Regions from separate parts of the Homo sapiens genome. Here all the other regions are linked to region 2. Evidence: promoter capture Hi-C in 16 types of primary human blood cells and fetal thymus (Javierre and others, 2016). All regions are on one chromosome and are shown on one strand. The core of a region is centred on a gene start or on the middle of the fragment in contact, and the rest is flanking DNA. Distances in the headings are between cores, read along the strand shown.

Evidence for each region. Contacts are between HindIII fragments. The CHiCAGO score rates a contact against its expected background, and 5 or more counts as called.
Region 1: a contact is called between the fragment with the promoter of SYNGR4 here and the fragment with the promoter of FTL in region 2, in 2 of 17 cell types (fetal thymus and naive B cells). The highest score is 7.3, in fetal thymus.
Region 3: a fragment that was not itself captured here is called in contact with the fragment with the promoter of FTL in region 2 in 1 of 17 cell types (fetal thymus); the score reaches 5.3 in fetal thymus.

What each region holds. Positions count from the first base shown.
Region 1 is chr19:48,363,072-48,365,771 of GRCh38, reverse strand. It overlaps SYNGR4 (synaptogyrin 4), which reads right to left and starts at 1,405. Exons shown (of 5, transcript NM_012451.4): 1 at 1,235-1,405; 2 at 1-36. TMEM143 (transmembrane protein 143) reads left to right here and starts at 1,832. Exons shown (of 8, transcript NM_018273.4): 1 at 1,832-1,874; 2 at 2,241-2,481. The coding sequence starts at 1,852. RefSeq lists enhancers at 1,111-1,260, 1,631-1,750, 2,231-2,280. The HindIII fragment of the contact is 5,293 bases long and covers 1-1,772 here.
Region 2 is chr19:48,964,017-48,966,716 of GRCh38, reverse strand. It overlaps FTL (ferritin light chain), which reads right to left and starts at 1,408. Exons shown (of 4, transcript NM_000146.4): 1 at 1,108-1,408; 2 at 801-947; 3 at 311-436; 4 at 1-134. The coding sequence starts at 1,209. RefSeq lists an enhancer at 1,119-1,168, a silencer at 1,419-1,578 and a cis regulatory region at 2,509-2,700. The HindIII fragment of the contact is 1,823 bases long and covers 92-1,914 here.
Region 3 is chr19:48,329,041-48,331,740 of GRCh38, reverse strand. It overlaps EMP3 (epithelial membrane protein 3 (MAM blood group)), which reads right to left. Exons shown (of 5, transcript NM_001425.3): 4 at 2,249-2,389; 5 at 1,188-1,440. The coding sequence ends at 1,271. Among named protein-coding and RNA genes, the nearest start is that of EMP3, 4.8 kb to the right of the region's middle. RefSeq lists an enhancer at 2,190-2,339. The HindIII fragment of the contact is 888 bases long and covers 842-1,729 here.

The DNA of each region.
Region 1 (2,700 bases), core at 156-2,655, 600 kb after region 2:
CGTCCGGGGGCTTCAGGCCAGCCCTGGGCTTGGCTGCTGTGGGATGACACAGATGGGGGATGCCAGTCAGGGGCACGGGGTGGAAGGGCTGTTGGGGGCCCCAGGATTGGGGGACATGGGGTGGGGATGGGGGGGGTCCCCGGAATGGAGTTGTGTGGGGTGAGGGGACTGCTGAGCCTCTTAGGAGTCAGGGTGTGGGGTGAATGGGCTGTCAGGGGCCCCAGAAGTCGGGGACGTAGGATGGGGGTGCAGGTGGGTCCCAGGGAATGAGGTTGTGTGTGCTGAGGGGGCTTCTGTGGGCCCCAGGAGTGGGGGGCATAGGATGGGGGTGCTGGGGGTCCCAGGAATGGGGTTGTGTGGTGAGGGGGCTACTAGGGGTCCCAGAAGTGGGAGGCATAGGATGGGGGTTCTGGGGGGTCCCAGGAAAGGTGTTGTGTGGAGAGGGCTGCTAGGGGTCCCTGAAGTGGGGGACATAGGATGCGGGTGCTGGGGGTTCCCAGGAATGGGGTTGTGTGTGGTGAGGGAGCTTTCTGGGGGTCCCAGGAGAGGGGGGCATAGGATGGGGATACTAGGGGTCCCAGGCAAGGTGTCGTGTGGGGAGGGCTGCCAGGGGTCACAGAGGTGGAGGTGCAGGATGAGAGAGTCGCTAAGGGTCCCCTGGGTTGAGGTGTGGGTTAAGGGGGTCTATGGAGGATTCCAGAGAGGTGAGGGCCTGGGGTGAGGGTGATTCTGGGGGTCCCAGGAGTGGGGGACATAAGTGAAGGGGCTGCTTCAGGTTCCAGAAGTCAGGAATGTGGGCTGAGGGGGTTGTTGGGCGAGAGGGCTGTCAGGGATCCCAGAGGTGGAGTGCAGGGGAGGGCTGGGATATTTGGGGACCACGTCTTGTGACCCAGGAGCTGAAGGGCCTGCAGAGGGACTGGGTCCTTCTGTGAGAGGACACAGGTGGGACTTTCTGGGGACTAGGGGGTGCGGCCATTGAGATCAGAGCCCCTGGGAGGTCTGAAACCGAATAATCCCTTTCAGGTTTGGGGGTGACAGCACCCTTCGTGGAGAACCCAGGTATCTCAGGGCATATTTCAGGCTGTCCTTGTCACTTGGGGCCATTTCCCAGAATAAGGGCCTCCCTTTCGAATTCAGCTCCATTTTCACGGAAGTGCACCTCCTCAAGCTGGGAGTCGGGACCTCGGATTTGTGGGGAACCTCAGAATGAGGCCACGCCCCGGCACTGGGCTACCTTCTTAGAATCGCGGTCTCCCCTTTAAGGACCTGGAATGGCAGTGCTGAGGTTTGGGGGTGACGGCACCTGAGAAGGGGCCGCCCCTTCTCTGGAGGGCCAATCTGCGTCACCTGAGGGCCCGCCCTTCCTTTCGCCACCCCCACCCCTCCTGGTCCCTAGCGCCACCTCAGCCTTCTTTTGGTTCCGCTTTTTCCCGCCTTTTCGCTCCTCCACAGCTGATTGGCTGCGCCCAAGTCCCGCCCCCTCCCTCTTTCCGCCTACTCAGGAGCTGACACGAGCCGGGGCGTGGCCTCGGCGAACGTTGGACTGCGCGCCGTTGGCGGACTGCGCGCGGGAGCCCTACCCCGCCCCATCCCTCTAGGGAGTCTCGCGTCCACACCGCCCCTTCCCTTTGTAGCAAGCTGACAAGGAGACACTCCTGCGGCGCATGCGTCGCGCCCAAACGAGGCCGGCGGTGGAGAAAGGCAGGCAACGCATGCGTAGTTGATGTAGGGAGTCGGCGGTGAGAAATGGACAGCCCGCATTGACCGAAGCTTTGCGCATGCGTTTTACTGCTGGGTGAAGCCGAACCTCGGGAGCCCAGGACGCCCTCCTGCACATGCGCAGGAGGCTCAATGACAGTCGAGCTTTGGCTAAGGTGAGGGAGAAATCGGGGGATTGCATGGCCAGGGAGGGCGGCCCTGCACCCCCTAGGTAACCTTTACGAGCATTTCCTGCTCTCCTAAGATCTACCTCGCTGTCTAGACCCCAAAGAAACGTTGTACCACTACAGGGTCTCTGGGCCTGAAAAACGCCCCAGAACCTAAGACCTCTGACCCCTGTCTGGGACCCAGGCCAACTGAGCAGTGTGGGAAGGGGACAGGCAACAGGGGCTTTGAGGCGAGCGGATGGGCTCTGCGCCCTGCCTGGGGTAGAGACGGCTTCTGGAGGGTGGGACGTGGAGGTGGAGAGGGCGCTTTTCCTCTAGATGGCCTTTGACCCCTGCCCATTTTCCTCTGTTTAGGCTCCGGGGAAAGGGTCTAGCCATGCTGCATGTGACCCGGGGGGTCTGGGGGTCCAGGGTCCGAGTATGGCCACTGTTGCCCGCGCTCCTCGGGCCCCCCCGGGCCCTCTCATCGCTGGCAGCCAAAATGGGGGAGTATCGCAAGATGTGGAACCCCAGGGAGCCCCGCGACTGGGCCCAGCAGTACCGCGAGCGCTTCATTCCCTTCTCCAAGGAGCAGCTGCTCCGCCTCCTAATACAGGTACCGCCTGTCCCAGGCCCAAGAGCCTGGGGACTACGGCTCCCAGCAGGCTTCGCGGCGGCAGGGCCCTAGTTGCTGCAGAGAGCTGCCCTGGCGCCTCCTGGGAGTTGTAGTTCCCGGGTCCCTTCGTGTTTCCCTAGTGGGCGGGAGATGAGCTGGAATGCAGGAGCCAGGTCTCCGAGATGCAGACGCAGCATCCATTCCCAACTCTGGCTTGTT
Region 2 (2,700 bases), core at 159-2,658:
AGCCTTTCGAAGAGATACTCGCCCAGCCCAGCCTCCGGGCCACCCAGCCTGTGGAGGTTGGTCAGGTGGTCACCCATCTTCTTGATAAGCTTCACTTCCTCATCTAGGAAGTGAGTCTCCAGGAAGTCACAGAGCTGAGAGAGAAGAGGGAGAAATTAGAAACCCAATCCCTGGAAAAGAGGGGGAGAGAGCAGCCAGTTGCAGATTAAAATGTGACAGGTGTGAAATGAGGCTCTGAAGGAAATTTGCCCAAAGGGAGCAGAGGCTTGAGGGGTATGGTTGGGTAGCCATGGATGCAGCGGGTACGTACATGGGGGTCCGTGCGGGCAGAACCCAGGGCATGAAGATCCAAAAGGGCCTGGTTCAGCTTTTTCTCCAGGGCCATGGCAGCTTTCATGGCGTCTGGGGTTTTACCCCACTCATCTTCAGCTGGCTTCTATATAGAAGGGAGAAATGGCTCAGAATACACACACTCGGCACATAGAACTAAACCTACATTTCCCAAGAGTCGTTGGGGGTCAGAGGCCCAGGCCACAAAGACATGTGACAGCTTGTATTTATCACTCTCCGCACCCTGTCCTAGCTCTTACAGCTATACGTCCCTAAGACCACGCAGCGGTGTGGACTGCCGCGTGTTGTGGGCACTGCACGAGGTGCGCCTCTATTTCCAGCGGTTAAGAGGGCTCACAAGACCGAACTCAATCTCCCAGAAGCCCACGCGACACCTACGCCCTCAAATCAAGGCTCCTCGCGCGCACGGCCTGCTGGGAGATGTAGTCCATTACCCACACACTAGTTACCTTGATGTCCTGGAAGAGAGCGCGGCCGCCACGCTGGTTTTGCATCTTCAGGAGACGCTCGTAGCCCTCGCGCTTCTCCTCGGCCAATTCGCGGAAGAAGTGGCTCACGCCTTCCAGAGCCACATCATCGCGGTCGAAATAGAAGCCCTACGGGAAGAGATGGAGGCAACAATGGTTAGCGGGAGGCGAGGCCAAGGGGACTCCGCCCTCTGTTTACCCGACCGCACAAAGAAGGCTGGCGCGTGCAGTGAGGGCCGGAGGTGCGCAGCTGGAGGAAATTAGGGCCAGGGGCGTCCTGGGGACTCACCAGAGAGAGGTAGGTGTAGGAGGCCTGCAGGTACAAATTGACCAGGCTGTTGACGGCTGCCTCCACGTCGGTGGAATAATTCTGACGAATCTGGGAGCTCATGGTTGGTTGGCAAGAAGGAGCTAACCACAAAAACGGTGCTGGCAGGTCCCAGAAGCAGGAGATGGCCGAGAAGATGGTCCCGGAGGTTGCAAGCGGAGAGGAAATCGGAGGGCGGTCGGAGGCTGGAAGAGAGTCCCCGGATCTGTTCCGTCCAAACACTGTTGAAGCAAGAGACAGACCCGCGGGACCGCCGAACTGCGAGGGGACGTGGCTAGGGCGGCTTCTTTTATGGTGCGCCGGCCCTCGGAGGCAGGGCGCTCGGGGAGGGCTAGCGGCCAATCTGCGGTGGCAGGAGGCGGGGCCGAAGGCCGTGCCTGACCAATCCGGAGCACATAGGAGTCTCAGCCCCCCGCCCCAAAGCAAGGGGAAGTCACGCGCCTGTAGCGCCAGCGTGTTGTGAAATGGGGGCTTGGGGGGGTTGGGGCCCTGGGGCTGATTCTGGAAATGCAGGGGTTCGTGGGCGGGAGGGTGGGGGCTGGGGTCCCTCTGGGAGGCTAGAGTTTTATGGGAGCACTAACAGCCCTGTGAACTGATGACCCTGGGGTCCTGGGGTGCCTCGGGAAAGTAAGATTCTGGGGTTTCCGAGGGCATGGATTTTTCTGGAACCTTGAGTGGGGGGAGGGGCACCTCAAAGGTGCAGGGAGGACCTGTAGTTGCCTGAGGTTTGCGCTGCGAGATAAGGAGTCTCCGGATCCTTGGGAAGCTTGGAAGGCTGTGAGGTGTTATTTCTGGACCCCTGGAGATCTCTGGAAGATGGAGTGTTGCGGGGACTGGAGTCCTGGGATTTACAGGGGTGGGGGTTCACGATGCAAACTCTCTATATTTTGGAGCCCTCCCCGGGGAAATCTTTAGGTTCTTGAGGTGCTCTGCAAGTTGGAAAGGGCAGTTATTCTGGAGCCGTGGGTTTCACCCAGTGCGGGAAGCCCAGGAGGAGCATTGTATGAGGTAGGGTGACTTCTGGAACCCTGGACAGCCCTCTGGAACCCTCCAAAGATGGGCTGGGACTTTGGGGATACCTTGGAGCTCTTTCAGGGGCCCAGGCTTTTTCTGGGAGTGGAAATGGGGAGGAATGAAAAGTCTGTTTTGAGCTTTGCGGTGTCTCTGGGATTGCATTTCCTGGAGGCTGTTTTGGAGACAACTCACAGACTTCGAGAATTCTCCGTGGCCCTGAACAGTGTCTCTGAAGTTGCCCTCGTGTCTTGCCTGACGTGTGCTCCTTCAGGCCCACAAAGAGAAGCCCTGCGTTGTGGACAAACAGTCTGGGGACCTATGGACGAGACGTCTGTCTTCGACTAATGCATATTTTTTAAGTGGGCCTGGTCCACGTTGATTTCTGGGAGACGGAGTCGGCGCAAACCTTGACTCTACTTAAGTGCCCTGATGGAGGCAGCCCGTGCGCTGGGCAGGGAGCTGAAGCCACTGGGGTGTGGGGTGAGGTCAGGCCCTGCCCTACAGAGGAGCTGCTCCGAACAGCCCAGGCGGGGCAGCCCC
Region 3 (2,700 bases), core at 36-2,535, 630 kb after region 2:
CGCACCCGGCCTGTGCAGATTGTTAACTGCACAAAGGAACACAGCCACGGGTGGGTGGCTGTAAGACCCAGCCCATACCCCTACATGTATCCTGGTGTGGGGCTGGGTCAGCCAGAAGAAGGGGTGCCTCCTAATTTTTGCTAACGTGTCATATGGGCTAGAGGCAGCCTTTGGGGAGACAGGGGAAGTCTCCCTCTCTAGGACCCCAAATGTTCAGTCCCTAGAGAGGGAGACTGGGCTGGGCGCGGTGGCTCCCGCCTGTAATCCCAGCACTTTGGGAGGCTGAGGTGGGTGGATCACCTGAGGTCAGGAGTTCAAGACCAGCCTGGCCAACATGGTGAAACCCCGTGTCTACTAAAGATACAAAAATTAGCCGGACGTGGTGGTGGGCGCCTGTAATCCCAGCTGCTCAGGAGGCTGAGGCAGGAGAATTGCTTGAACCCGGGAGGCGGAGGTTGCAGTGAGTGAAGATCGCACCACTGCACTACAGCCTAGGTGACAGAGCGAGACTCCGTCTCAAAAAAAAAAAAAAAAAAAAAAAAGAGAGAGAGGGAGACTGGTTTCCTAGAGGGAAAAAGAAAGCTGTCTTCCCAAATGGAAAGTTAGTAGAAAGAAAAAAGAGTCCAGAACTAGCCGGGTGTGGTGGCTCGTGCCTGTAGTCCCAGCTACTCGGGAGGCTGAGGCAGGAGAATCGCTTCAACCCGGGAGGCGGAGGTTGCAGTGAGCTGAGATCGTACCACTGCACTCCAACCTGGACAGAAAGAAAAAAAGAGTCCGACAATCTAGAAACACACACTATGCCCGGGGTTCAGAGAGAGAGAGCAACAGAGTGACAGAAGCTTGAGCAAGGAGACAGGACTGGTCACTGCAGGCTTCCTATCCTAACAGGGTCTGCTGGGACCCAGAATCCAGGTTCTTCCCAGAAGTGTCTGAAGGTCTAGATTCAGGTGCCTCACAGAGGTCTCTTGGGCCTTGAGCGGGGAAGGCCCAGGCTCTTGGGTCTGTGGGAGGGAAAAGGTGCCTGGGGTCCCGGCTCCTGTGTCCTCGGGAGGAAGGGGTTGGGGGCTGGGAGATGGGCATTCTGAGGGCTGAGCAGCTGGCGGTGGGGACCATGTTAGGTTCAGGAGAGGTCAAGCGTGCGCAGCCTGGGTCCCTGGAGGCGGAAGGAAGGAAGATCAAGGCAGAGCCCGCGGTTAAGGTTTTATTTTTTGGAGGACGCGCGGCGAGGGGGGCCGGGAAGGGGCGGGGGCAGCCGAGCGAGGCGGGGCGCTCACTCCCGCTTCCGTAGGTGGATGTAGATGATGCCGCTGACCAGGGCGAGGGGGAAGGCCACCCAGGCCAGGGCGAAGCAGTATCCGAAGCTGCCCCCTCGCGGGTGCTTCTCCAGGATCTCCTCGGCGTGAATGGCATAGATCAAGGCGCCAGTAAACACCGCCACGCCTGCGGAAGATGAAAACCACACGTCATGCAGTGCCCCCTCAAGACTACATTTCCCAATATCCCATGGGGGCAAAGAAGCGCCGGAGGGCCCGTGGGCAGCGCCGCTGCCTGCTGGGAGTTGTGGTTCTTTCCCCCCCGCCCAGCGCCGTGCAACTGTAGCGCGGCCTTAGGTAACTGATTTAATCTCTCTAGGTCCAATAATATCTCTCTATCCATCCAAGGAATATTTTTGAGTGTGTTTCTATAAGCCAAACATGCAGTAGTAAATTCATAAACCAAGAGAGAAGCTTTGCAAGAACCTATAATGTTCCCCAAACTGACTGTGATTAAGTTAGCCCTTTGCACCTTAAGTCAAAAAATTAAAAAGTACGCAAAACTTCTTGAAGTATCTGATGCACAATAGGCACGCAAGAAACAGCGGTTGGCTGATATAAATACCATTATTATTATGATTTAGAGCTCTCTACTGAGGTACTAATTAGTTTATCCCCCCACGTCACGGCCGATCCCTGGGACCAAAACTATTTACCTATACCTCCTTCCCCAGCCCCGGCTCCCTGAAACTCTGAGTTCCCTGATGACTCATACGCACAAGCCATAACTATCATTAGCCACTGAAAACTACAAGTCCCAGCAATCCCTGGGGGCAGAGATGTAGCCCACGGAGGCACCTCTTGTGGCTCGTGGGGTGTTGAAAGTTGTTTTTTTCTACGAGAGGCCCATTCTCAGGGCCCCCAGCATCTTGACACACCCCACTCCCTTCTGCTCAATTCTTGGGGGATTAGGGTTGGGGAGGGGCAGTGCTCACTGGTGCAAAGCTGGCAGAGGCCGGTGGCATAGAAGAGACCTCCTCGTCGCATGGTGTAGAGCTGGAACATGAACAGGATGAAGGAGAGACAGCAGAGAATGAGGGAGAGCACCATGAGGACCTGCACCGCCTTCAGCCAGCCTGCAGTAAGGAGGACACAGAGGGGGACATCACCGTGGGTCCAGAGTTCCAGCTTCACCTGCTTGCTCACCATGTGACCCTTCTCTGCCCCATCCCTGCTCCCGTTTAGGCCCATACAAGCCTAGATACTTAGATGTATCACTTATTTTGACCTTGAGCCCTGTTACCTTGCTATATTCCCTTCTCAGTTCTAGTAGTTGCTTTGCCAATTTCCTTTTTCTTTTTTTTCTGAAACCAGGTCTTGCTCTGTTGCCCAAGCTGGAGTGCAGTGGTATAATCATGGCTCACTGCAGCCTCGTCCTTCAGGGCTC